2 separate regions of the Homo sapiens genome follow, and region 1 is linked to region 2. Evidence: promoter capture Hi-C in 16 types of primary human blood cells and fetal thymus (Javierre and others, 2016). All regions are on one chromosome and are shown on one strand. The core of a region is centred on a gene start or on the middle of the fragment in contact, and the rest is flanking DNA. Distances in the headings are between cores, read along the strand shown.

The links. The method cuts DNA at HindIII sites, captures the fragments that hold promoters and counts their contacts. A CHiCAGO score of 5 or more calls a contact.
Region 1: a contact is called between a fragment that was not itself captured here and the fragment with the promoter of HOXD1 in region 2, in 1 of 17 cell types (total CD4 T cells). The highest score is 5.6, in total CD4 T cells.

What each region holds. Positions count from the first base shown.
Region 1 is chr2:177,125,385-177,131,444 of GRCh38, forward strand. The region is part of intron 1 of LOC105373760 (a long non-coding RNA gene); the gene reads right to left. Among named protein-coding and RNA genes, the nearest start is that of MIR4444-1, 84 kb to the right of the region's middle. The HindIII fragment of the contact is 3,611 bases long and covers 1,549-5,159 here.
Region 2 is chr2:176,185,747-176,191,371 of GRCh38, forward strand. HOXD1 (homeobox D1) reads left to right here and starts at 2,922. Exons shown (of 2, transcript NM_024501.3): 1 at 2,922-3,707; 2 at 4,062-5,161. The coding sequence starts at 3,056. The coding sequence ends at 4,396. HAGLR (HOXD antisense growth-associated long non-coding RNA) reads right to left here and starts at 3,212. Exons shown (of 3, transcript NR_033979.2): 1 at 3,068-3,212. It overlaps MIR7704 (microRNA 7704), which reads left to right and starts at 3,097; the gene lies at 3,097-3,155. The HindIII fragment of the contact is 11,390 bases long and covers 1-5,625 here.

The sequences.
Region 1 (6,060 bases), core at 2,104-4,603, 940 kb after region 2:
CATAGGAGTCACCAGATGAATGTTTGATGACATTAGTTTTCTTTTATAACTGCCCATGTCTTTCATTAAACAATGACCATCAAAGAAATTATTTCTTACAAAAGAACAATTTGAGGAATGAGAGGCTGCAAATGTACAAACTACAGTTCACTGCATTTTTAATAAGAATTTTGAGCACAATAAAGATTTTATATCCAAATATATTATGAAAAAATGGATGCTAATGCTATGTTAAAAGGTTACCACACTAGGTTTATTTGCCTCTTTCTTCTTTTCTCATATCCTAAGTCATAGGCTTTAAAACAAAATCAGGTCTGAGATTCATGTAATCGTCCCCATTTTAGTGTCTGTGCCGTCTTTGGGCATCACTTGGTCCTGTCCGCCAGTGATCATGAAGGGAGCCTGGTCTGCACTGGCTAGGAAGGGAGGCATTGCAGCAGGCTCTGCCTCGGTCCACGCTTCACTCCCACCCGATCCCCCACTGACTCAGCTCATCTTCAACATCTTGTGTGGAAGATAAAATCATTGTGATGTACAGAAAAATCTACACCGAAAACAGGAATAAGAACAACCTCCCTCTCTCCTATCACCTGAATTCACATGGCTACTTAAAGTTAGTAAATTCAATAAAATTAGAGTTTAGTTCCTCAGTTGCAGTAGCCACACTTCCAGTACTCAATAGCCGTCTGTGCCTAGTGGCTACCATATTCATTATTGCAGGGATAGGAAGGTCTATTGGACAGCGCTAGTCTCCAGAGGGCCAGCTAAGGAGGGGAATAACGGTCCCCTAACCACTTGACACGTTAGCCAAGGAGGAGGAAAGAAAGAAACAGTGTAGTTCCCTTTTTTCCTTAGAAAACTGTTTTACTTCCACCAAAACTAGCCTGAGTGGATTCCATCCTTTCTCTTCCCCAAATCTTGCCTCCTTCCTGACTACAGTGGGGAAAGAAGTGGTAGTGTGTGAGAGATTTTGAAAGCAATTTTAAAAAACCAAAACAATGCATATATCTTGTATTTCGAATGGGCCAGGCACATTGGCACAGTGGCTCATGCCTGTAATCCCAGCACTTTGGGAGGCCAAGGTGGGAGGATCACCTGAGGCCAAGAGTTCAAGACCAGCCTGAGCAAGATGGTGAGACCCTGTTTGTAAAAAAAAAAAAAAAAAAAAAATTAATTAGCCAGGTGTGGTGGCACACACCTGTGGTCCCAGCTACTTGGGAGGCTGAGGCAGGAGGAACCCTTAAGCCCACAAGTTCTAGGCTGCAGTGAGCCGTGATTTTGCCACTGTGCTACAGCCTAGGCGAGAGAGACAGACCTCATCTCTTTTTTTTTTTTAAGTGATATGCCTGCATTTGCATTGCTGGCTCATGCTTGAAACCAGCTCACTGAGGTAACTTCTATATGGAAGTTGCTCCTGTAATCCCTAGGTGTTCCACATGGGCACATTGATTCAATTGAAGTTATTTTAGTAAGGCAATCATCATACTGATTGTTACTTGGAATTCGTATTCATGCTGCTTTAAGTAATAGCCTTTAACTTAATTTCAAAGCTTTAAAATAATTGTTTTAATATTGATGAAGACCGGTCTTGCTACCAATCTTAAATAAAAATCTTATTGGCAACAATCCTACATATATTAGAATATAAAAAGAATAATAACCAATAGTAATGAAGTCATTTTTTTCTTCTTCATGTCTGAAGAGCACACCCTTCTATTTCCAACACACATGGGTGAAGCTGAAGAGACTGACTATGGTAGACATTAGTAACATTCCCCCGTATTCAAGTGTTCTCCACTTCAGGACACACAAAGATTATAATTCCCCCATCCCCCTTATTTTATACATAGCTATGTAATTATTTCTGGCCAATGAAATGAGAAAAGGAAGTGAAATGCATTGTTTCCAGGCAAAAGCAGTAATTGGCAGTCTGTGACTCCATTTTTCTCTTCCTCTCTTTGATGAGCTCTGAAGTACTGCAAGGGCAGGTCACTATCTGAAGATGGTCAAACCTCCATCTCTCTAAAACATGATCTTCCTCTGCTGGCATAAGAAACTGTTAGTGTTACTTTGAGATATGAAACCAGATTTTTTCATGTGTCTGTCAGTTAAATACCATTATTTAATTCTTTTAGGGCTCTTTTTGAGAGTGAGTCTCCAATAAAACTCTATTAGGATGTGCTATGGTTGTTTTTTGTTTAAGGTGGAAACAGAGTTTTGCTATGTTGTCCAGGCTGATCTCAAACTCCTGGACTCAAGTGCTGAGCCTCCCATCTCAGCCTCTCAAAATGCTGAGCCTCCCATCCTAGCCTCCCAAAATGCTGAGATTACAGCATTTGTAATGCCACATTAAATCTTGTGCCATGGATTTAATCAAACACAAACACATCAGGCTGAGCGTGATGGCTCATGCCTATAATCCCAGCACTTTGGGAGGCTGAGGCAGGCAGATTGCTTGAGCCCAGGAGTTTGAGACCAGCCGGGGCAACATGTTGAAACTCTTTCTCTACCAAAAATCACAAATTAGCTAGGCGTGGTGCGGCACCTGTAGCCCCAGCTCCTCAGGAGGCTGAGGTGGGAGGATCACCTGAGCCTAGGGAGGTCAAGGCTGCAATGAGCCAAGATCCCACCAACCTGGGCTGTGTGCCTGGAGCTGTCCTTTCAGTACCATCTGAAATGTCATCCGTGCCCTGACACCACTGCTGTATATTATGTGCGTGTAGGTGAGCTTCATGTGAACCTTCCCTGACACGTCTTCCCTCCTGTGCTCATTGGAGTGGACCTCCATTGTGCATATCATGGTGCACTGTTAATTATTCATATTTAAGACAGAGAACTTCTGGGAGGGTGTCTTATATTACCCTTTTTCCTCCAATATGTAGCACTTTGTCCGAGAGAAGATAAGTACCAAATGTTTGCATGGAGAATGAATAAACAGATGTATTTACAAGTCTGCTCATACCTGGAATGATCTAGAGCCACAAAGAGCCAACTCCCTTTCTTTACAATTAACTTCATGTTATTGTTGCCATATTTTAACACTCCTAAGATGACTGCCAATTAGCATACTATATTATAAAGTAAGAGAATGGTGAGTCATTTGTTGAAAGCCTTTAAAGATCATTCACTAGCACTCAAGGCAAATGATATATGGATAAAAATAGCCAAAAAAGCACAGATTGGGATGATATACTAATATAATTTTAGAAAAATGATTCCCAACTTTTTAGAAGTGTCATACTTCGTAATTGATTATTGGGTTTTATGACATTTCCTTATCCCAGCCTTAAAATGCTGTTGTTTTATATATTTACTTTCAAAAGGCCTAGGTAAGTGATCAGTTTACCCATATATTTCCTTCTATTTCTCCTTTTCAGTTTTGAAGACAGACAACAATTTTCCTCTATGTTACTTTCAACTATTATGCTCCAACCACAGCAAGAGTAACTCTGAAAGGTTAATCCCTTGGTTCTCAACCTGGCTACATCTTAGAATCACTTGGGGAACTTTGCTAAAAACACAGATGCCTAGGCCTCACCCCCAAGAGATTGTGATTTAGCTGACTTGGGTATGATCCAGATTATTTTAAAAACCCTACAGTCAGGATTGAAAACTACTAGTTTAGTCAAATCATCAGTTGGAAAGAACACTGGACTGGGAATAAAAGGGTCACTCATTCATTCAATACACATGCTTGTCAGCCTTCTCACCACCTACTGAATACTATACTAAGCCCTGGGATGCAAAGATAAATGAAGCACAGCCCTAGAGAGGTTCACCGTCTGACTAAATAGAAAAGTAAATTACTTAAGTGCTCTAATTAAAAGAAACAGGGGACTATGACAGACCAAAGGAGGAGGGGAATTACTTAATCCTGGCTGGGAGGGTTAGAAAATTCTTTTTGAAAGAACTACATTGTCCGGGATGTTGAACAAGGTAGCATTTAACCTGGCAAGAAAAGGATAACAAAGACATCCAATAGAGAAGACAACATTCATGAAGTATAAAATTGTGATACCGTCAGGGAACTGAAAGCAGTTAATGTGTCTAGAGCTTGCCATTGGGTAAGTCAGGGAGGCAGCTGTGGAAGAGGAGGGGGAAAAGCAGGCAAGGGCCAGGTCATGACAATCCAAGGGGCCTCAGTTCTGACAACAAAGTCATCACAAGGTCAGAAGCCACCTGGCTATCTATGAGATATACAGTGACACCTGAAATATATTGCCACTGAATTGCGATATACACCTTGCAATGAACTCCTGTTCCTGCCCAGCAACATGAAGGCATGGCCTACAGGGACAGGCCAAGGAGTGGCTTAGAGTGCTTTAGCTCCTCTGTAATACCTGTTTTTATTCGCCTCTTCCAGGGGCTATCTCAAATGAAAACAAAACCTTGTTGTTATACAAACACAGCTTCAGTACAAGTCCTTGAACACCTCTTCCAACTGCAGGTCCTCCCCTGAGCCCCATCCTGCCTTTGAAGTGGTATTACATTGTGGTTCAGCTCACAGTTTCTGGAATCAGACCATCTAGATCCAGATTCTGCCTCTTATTACTTACCAGCATTATTATCCTGAACAAGATACTTAACTTATCTAGGCCTTAGTTTACGTACCTGTAAAATGGAATTATAAACAGTACCTCTTTCAGAGGCTGTGAGAATGCACTGAATGTACAGCACTAAGCACAGGGTCTGGCACAGAGGCAGCATTCCATCTGTATTCGATCTAAAGCTCCACTGCAATCAAGGTGGTCCTCACTCCAGCAGCTCCCATGTCACAGGGACATGAGTGAGAAATGCCACAGCTTAGGCCCCACTTCCAGTCACCTAAACCAGAATCTGCTTTTTAACAGGATCCCCAGGTGATTCACATGCACATGAAAGTTTGAGAAACACCGCCACAAAGTATTATCTAGCTGCAGCATTCTAAAATTTTAAATCTCAAAAGCGGGGAATGATCCTGTTTACTCAAAGTAAGAGTGCTGAAGGCAATGGTTCTCGACCTTCACTGGGCATCAGAATCACATGGTGAACTTCTAAAGAAATCACATATGCCTGGGCCCAACTCCACCAACCCTATGCCACCTCCACCTCCCTAGAGATTCTGATTCTGTTGACCTAGGTGAGTGGAACCCAGGCATCTTTTTTTTTCTTTTTAACAAAGCTTCCCACATGATTCTAATGATATTGAGACCCACTGGTTTAAAGAGAGCATTAAATTCTGACAAAGTCTACATGGCAACTGGGCTTATCAGGAAAGGAAGCTGAGTCGGTAAAAAGAAGCTAATCTGTGAGTTGAGGAAGCAGTTCCACTGAGACCTGCCAGGCGTTTAAAACCTCCGCTGTTCTCCTCAGGCTGTAACGGCCTTACCTTCTCCATGTCTGTACCTGTGGTTTCTACTCCAGTCCTTCACTCCCCCTCTCCTTAAATCTTGATGAAGGCGCTTGACTCTAGCGTGGCACATTCACCTCCATTGCACCTCTGTCTGCTTCCTCCCCAGCAGCAGCCCTCTATGGCTCAGGTACTGTCTGGTGACTCAGTCCGTACTGCCCAGTGCCCCACTGTGTGCTCACCCACATCCTATGTTTTTGACCCAGGGCTGGTCCTCGATCCTGGTCCTGATGAGAACTAGAAGACACTTTCTCAGGGCCATAATCCCGAGGAAGAAAGAATACAAACCTTCCCCAAAACACAGAAGGCTCAGCAGGCTAGGGAGAGATCTGCCTTCTTGAAGACAAGAGAACCAGCTTCTCCAAGCTGCAGCTGCTGACGGTTATGCCCCAGTGCTCCTCCTCCCAACTCCAACTAATTTTAGCAGCAAAATATCTAATAACACAGAAGAAAATTAAACAATTAAGTGTTGCAATTGTAATCTTTAATTTTGAAAATTTCATAGCAAAATGCTCTGAGATTGACCCAAGGGTTAGAAAACACTGATTTCAAAACTTGCTCTTATAAATTAAATCATTGGTTTAGTAGCACTAATTCTAAGTGCAATGGGAGGTCATTGAAGGGTTTGAGTAGAGTTCAAACGTAATCCAATTTGCATTTTTTAAAGACCC
Region 2 (5,625 bases), core at 1,672-4,171:
TCAGCCTCCCAATGTGCTGGGATTACAGGTGTGAGCAACCGTGCCCAGCCAGAATGTAGTTTTCTGTATGCGATTATCAAAGAAATGCTATTGGGTCTGAACAAATATTGAACACCTCTCCCTCGCTCTCACCCACAGTTGTGAAAACAAAACAAAACAAAACAGTATTTTTAAAAACTTCATTCTTTTTTAGGGCACTTTCTTCCCTCAGAAAGGCTAAATCTCCAAAATTTTACTTGATGGAGCTAGTGTGGATAGCTCATGGGTGCATTAAAGTCAAGGCCTAATTATATCATGAAGGACCCAGCCTTTGCCCCAAATGCCCAGGAGGAAAAACTTAGTCTTTGTTGCCATGAAAGCTGCCAGGACACCTAGGCAGCCTGATTTTTCTGAAACCTTAGAGAAAAGGCCCTTAATTTGAGGGGTTTTGGTCAGACTTGCCGGACAGTCAGGCTGACTCTTCTGCCCTAAACCCTGGGTTGCAGCCGGCTGGATGTCTTCCCCAAAGAGGTTTACAAAGTCATCCTTCCTTCTTGACCCATGGGGCCTCTAGGCTTTGGAGTTGTGATAGGATAAGTATCATTTGAGGGAACACTGTGAGAGCTGGGACATCTTGCAGATAAAAACTGGCTATTAAAATCTAGCCAGAGGTGGAGGAGGGGGCATTGTGAACTCAGCAGCATCTTATTTGCTGTTACTTTTGCATAAATGGCACAGGAGAGCAGTGAAGAAACGTGTCTACATTTTAAGGCTGAGCTAGCTCTGAAGAGCTCTAACATTTCCTAACTGGGGTGTTAGGGAAGAACTTTTATTTTTCTCTTCTTAAAAATTATTTAGGGCCGGGCGCGGTGGCTCACGCCTGTAATCCCAGCACTTTGGGAGGCCGAGGCGGGCGGATCACGAGGTCAGGAGATCGAAACCATCCTGGCTAACACGGTGAAACCCCGTCTCTACTAAAAATACAAAAAATTAGCCGGGCATAGTGGTGGGCGCCTGTAGTACCAGCTACTCGGGAGGCCGAGGCAGAAGAATGGCGTGAATCGGGGAGGCTGAGCTTGCAGTGAGCCGAGATCGCGCCACTGCACTTAAAAAAAAAAATTAAATAAATAAATAAATAAAAATTATTTAGGACCTTATCTGACTGGCTATAGCACAACTGAAATAGCAAAATCAAGATTGAAGGGCTATTTTCAGCACAGGTATTCCATTTCCAATCAAACTCAAGAACTCCAGCAGTGCAGGAACCACAGACCTCTTTAACTTTGTGCTGATTCCTAGGCATCCACCCTCTACTGGCTCCCCTCAACCTGGGGACATCCCTCCCCCATCCTGCAGCAACTTCGGGTCCATCAGTAGTCCACATTTTGGTAGGGCTTTGTTTATTCACAAGTCCACAACCCTGGAAGGAACTGGCTCCCTGGGCTGTGATGGCGCCTATTCTAAAGACTTCCTCAGAGTGGAAATTTAGGCAACAACAGCTCAATCGCTCTTTTATGACAAGTCAATCAGTAAAACAATGATAAAACCTCGGTTACCATAACTTAGAGGCTGTAATAGATTAACTTTTCAAGGGCACTTGATATAAGCTCTGAGTAGACTCTTTAGAGTCTTTATTCACACAGGGTTTTAGGAAACCACCCTCTTTCATAACTACTGTGTGTAAATAACCTCTATTTATCTAATTTGTAATTTTCCTACAGTCCCCTCAAAAGGGAACATTAAAAGAAATACTAAAGGAAGTTGGAAAGTTTGTCAATGTAAAGCTGGTCTTTGTAACCTTTCTACTCTTCATTTCCTGTGGCAATTGCACTTTTATTTCCCGTCTCTCTACACTCAGTAAACAAAACCATATTATCAAGGGAAAGACGTGAGCCCATTAACATTGTGAGCCCTCAGATTTCACTCACAAGAGACGATGCAGCACTTATCTGATGGAGCAGAAGCTCTAATTGCTTCGAGGTACAAGTCCATCTAAACCTCTGAGATCTCACCCGTCCCCGGTAAGCCCTTGCGCCCTCCAGACAAGCTCCTCAGTGAAAGCAAGCGCCGCACCGGTGCCTGTGCCAGTCTCCCAGAAAGGAGCATAAGGAGTGTTCCACCACCACTCTGGATTCTTTATTCCAACAACCCAGCCGGAGGGGAAAATCTGCTAAACCACCCCACAAGGCAGAAACTTTATCAAAATCTGGCACTACAACACTGGCCCTCATCACGCCGCCACAAATTGCGAGGGATAGAAGAAAGCTGCAAAGTCACGTTAAAAGGAAGCCTAGTCAAAAAGTGAAAATTTTGTCCCGCCCTAGGCACACAGCACTCACAGCATAAGATGTAGTTCCATGAGTCCTAGGAAAGGGGGAAGAAAGGAAAAAACCAAACATCTGCTCTAGGTTTAGAAGAGGGATAACATCAGCGCCAAGCAAACCGAAAGCGCAGAGGACTCAGAAGAGGGGAAGAGGAATAACTTTATCTGTCCTGGAGGTGGGCGAAGAGCAGTCTCCACCGGCCGCGCGTCACGCTCCCATTTAACCTTTTCCATGCCGCGACGCCCACACTCCGCCCTCGAGGGACTAGCCCCCCCCACGATCCAGAGCAGAAGCGGCTCGCCCCGCTGCATCCACGGGCCCTCACCCAAGCGTCCAGTCCTGCCTTTCTCCCCCCACCTCGCCCAATACCTGTCCGAGAGCAGGCGTTCTGCCCTCTCGCCCCGCCCTTGCCCAGGCAGCCCCCGGTCGCGACGGCTCTCCTCGGGGCTCGGGGGCGCTGGGCGGCGGCCCTGGGCTGCTTTGGCTAACTTGGCTGCGGGGCAGGCGCGAGGAGCGGCGCGCCGACCGGGCCGAGCGGAGAGGCCGCCCATTGGCCGGCCAGCGCCACGTGGCCGCCCCCGCCGGTATATTAGGCCACTATTTACCTCCGGCTCACTCGCCATGGGTTGGAGAGGGCAGCTCGGGTAGAGAGGGCTGGCGGAGCGGCGCAGACGGCGGCAGTCCTGCTCAGCCTCTGCCCGGCTCCGTACTCCGGCCCCGGCCTGCGCCCTCAGAAAGGTGGGGCCCGAACCATGAGCTCCTACCTGGAGTACGTGTCATGCAGCAGCAGCGGCGGGGTCGGCGGCGACGTGCTCAGCTTGGCACCCAAGTTCTGCCGCTCCGACGCCCGGCCCGTGGCTCTGCAGCCCGCCTTCCCTCTGGGCAACGGCGACGGCGCCTTCGTCAGCTGTCTGCCCCTGGCCGCCGCCCGACCCTCGCCTTCGCCCCCGGCCGCCCCCGCGCGGCCGTCCGTACCGCCTCCGGCCGCGCCCCAGTACGCGCAGTGCACCCTGGAGGGGGCCTACGAACCTGGTGCCGCACCTGCCGCGGCAGCTGGGGGCGCGGACTACGGCTTCCTGGGGTCCGGGCCGGCGTACGACTTCCCGGGCGTGCTGGGGCGGGCGGCCGACGACGGCGGGTCTCACGTCCACTACGCCACCTCGGCCGTCTTCTCGGGCGGCGGCTCTTTCCTCCTCAGCGGCCAGGTGGATTACGCGGCCTTCGGCGAACCCGGCCCTTTTCCGGCTTGTCTCAAAGCGTCAGCCGACGGCCACCCTGGTGCTTTCCAGACCGCATCCCCGGCCCCAGGCACCTACCCCAAGTCCGTCTCTCCCGCCTCCGGCCTCCCTGCCGCCTTCAGCACGTTCGAGTGGATGAAAGTGAAGAGGAATGCCTCTAAGAAAGGTAAGTCCGCGGGCCTTGGATGGGGCCACCTGGGGTTGGGGACGGAGCCTCCCCCGCGGAAATGCGCTGGGAGCGTGGTGTCGCTGCCTTTCCAGACAGCGGTTTGGGTTTTGTGGAGGAGACGCGTTCCCGGGCGAATTCCATGGAGTCTGCCTCGAGTACAGATTCGGAAAATGTGCCAGGCATTGAGAAAATTTCAGGAAGGAGCTCTCCGTGGAACTTCTCCTGGTACAAATTCTGTTCCTAGGGACCCAGGAGGGCTGCGCTGGGACTTTGATTCTAACTAGCTCCACTGCTCACCCACATTCTGTCCCCGGCCTCAGGCCTGGCTGACGCCCTGTCTTTACGTTGCAGGCAAACTCGCCGAGTATGGGGCCGCTAGCCCCTCCAGCGCGATCCGCACGAATTTCAGCACCAAGCAACTGACAGAACTGGAAAAAGAGTTTCATTTCAATAAGTACTTAACTCGAGCCCGGCGCATCGAGATAGCCAACTGCTTGCACCTGAATGACACGCAAGTCAAAATCTGGTTCCAGAACCGCAGGATGAAACAGAAGAAAAGGGAACGAGAAGGGCTTCTGGCCACGGCCATTCCTGTGGCTCCCCTCCAACTTCCCCTCTCTGGAACAACCCCCACTAAGTTTATCAAGAACCCCGGCAGCCCTTCTCAGTCCCAAGAGCCTTCGTGAGGCCGGTACTTGGGGCCGAAAAACTGTGGCCTGCAGAAGTCCCAGGCGACCCCCATCCCTATCTAGACTTAGGAGCTCAGTTTGGGATGGAGGTGGGAGAACAAAAATGAATAGGGATTTCACTTGGGAAATGAAGTACTTTAGTTGGCTTCCGAGTTCCAGACTATATGTCCAGATATTAATTGACTGTCTTGTAAGCCACTTGTTTGGTTATGATTTGTGTCTTATCAGGGAAAAGGTGCCCAGCTGCCAGCCCAGCTCCGCTGCTATCTTTGCCTCACTTAGTCATGTGCAATTCGCGTTGCAGAGTGGCAGACCATTAGTTGCTGAGTTCTGTCAGCACTCTGATGTGCTCAGAAGAGCACCTGCCCAAAGTTTTTCTGGTTTTAATTTAAAGGACAAGGCTACATATATTCAGCTTTTTGAGATGACCAAAGCTAGTTAGGGTCTCCTTGATGTAGCTAAGCTGCTTCAGTGATCTTCACATTTGCACTCCAGTTTTTTTTTCTTTAAAAAAGCGGTTTCTACCTCTCTATGTGCCTGAGTGATGATACAATCGCTGTTTAGTTACTAGATGAACAAATCCACAGAATGGGTAAAGAGTAGAATCTGAACTATATCTTGACAAATATTATTCAAACTTGAATGTAAATATATACAGTATGTATATTTTTTAAAAAGATTTGCTTGCAATGACCTTATAAGTGACATTTAATGTCATAGCATGTAAAGGGTTTTTTTTGTAATAAAAATTATAGAATCTGCTGCTCTCTGCTTTTCTTACACTCTTTAATAATGATTCTCTTTCTTTAAAGTTGATTCAGTTTCCTGTATTTGAATTTTCTTGATTCTGCTATGAGAATTTGTTTATGTTGATAACTTTTTTTTTTTTTTGACACGGAGTCTTGCTCTGTTGCCCAGGCTGGAGTGCAGTGGCACAATTCTGGCTCACCACAACCTCTGCCTCCCAGGTTCAAGTGATTCTCCTGCCTCACCATCCCCAGTAGCTGGGATTACAGGCATGAGCCACCATGCCCAGCTAATTTTTTGTATTTTTTTTAGTAGAGACGGGGTTTCACCATGTTGGCCAGGTTGGACTCGAACTCCTGACCTCAGGTGATCCGCCCACCTCGGCCTCACAAAGTGCTAGAATTACAAACGTGAGCCACCACGCCCAGCCGATAACTTTTAAAAATAATACTTCCTACAGGTTGTGTACACACCCAGCA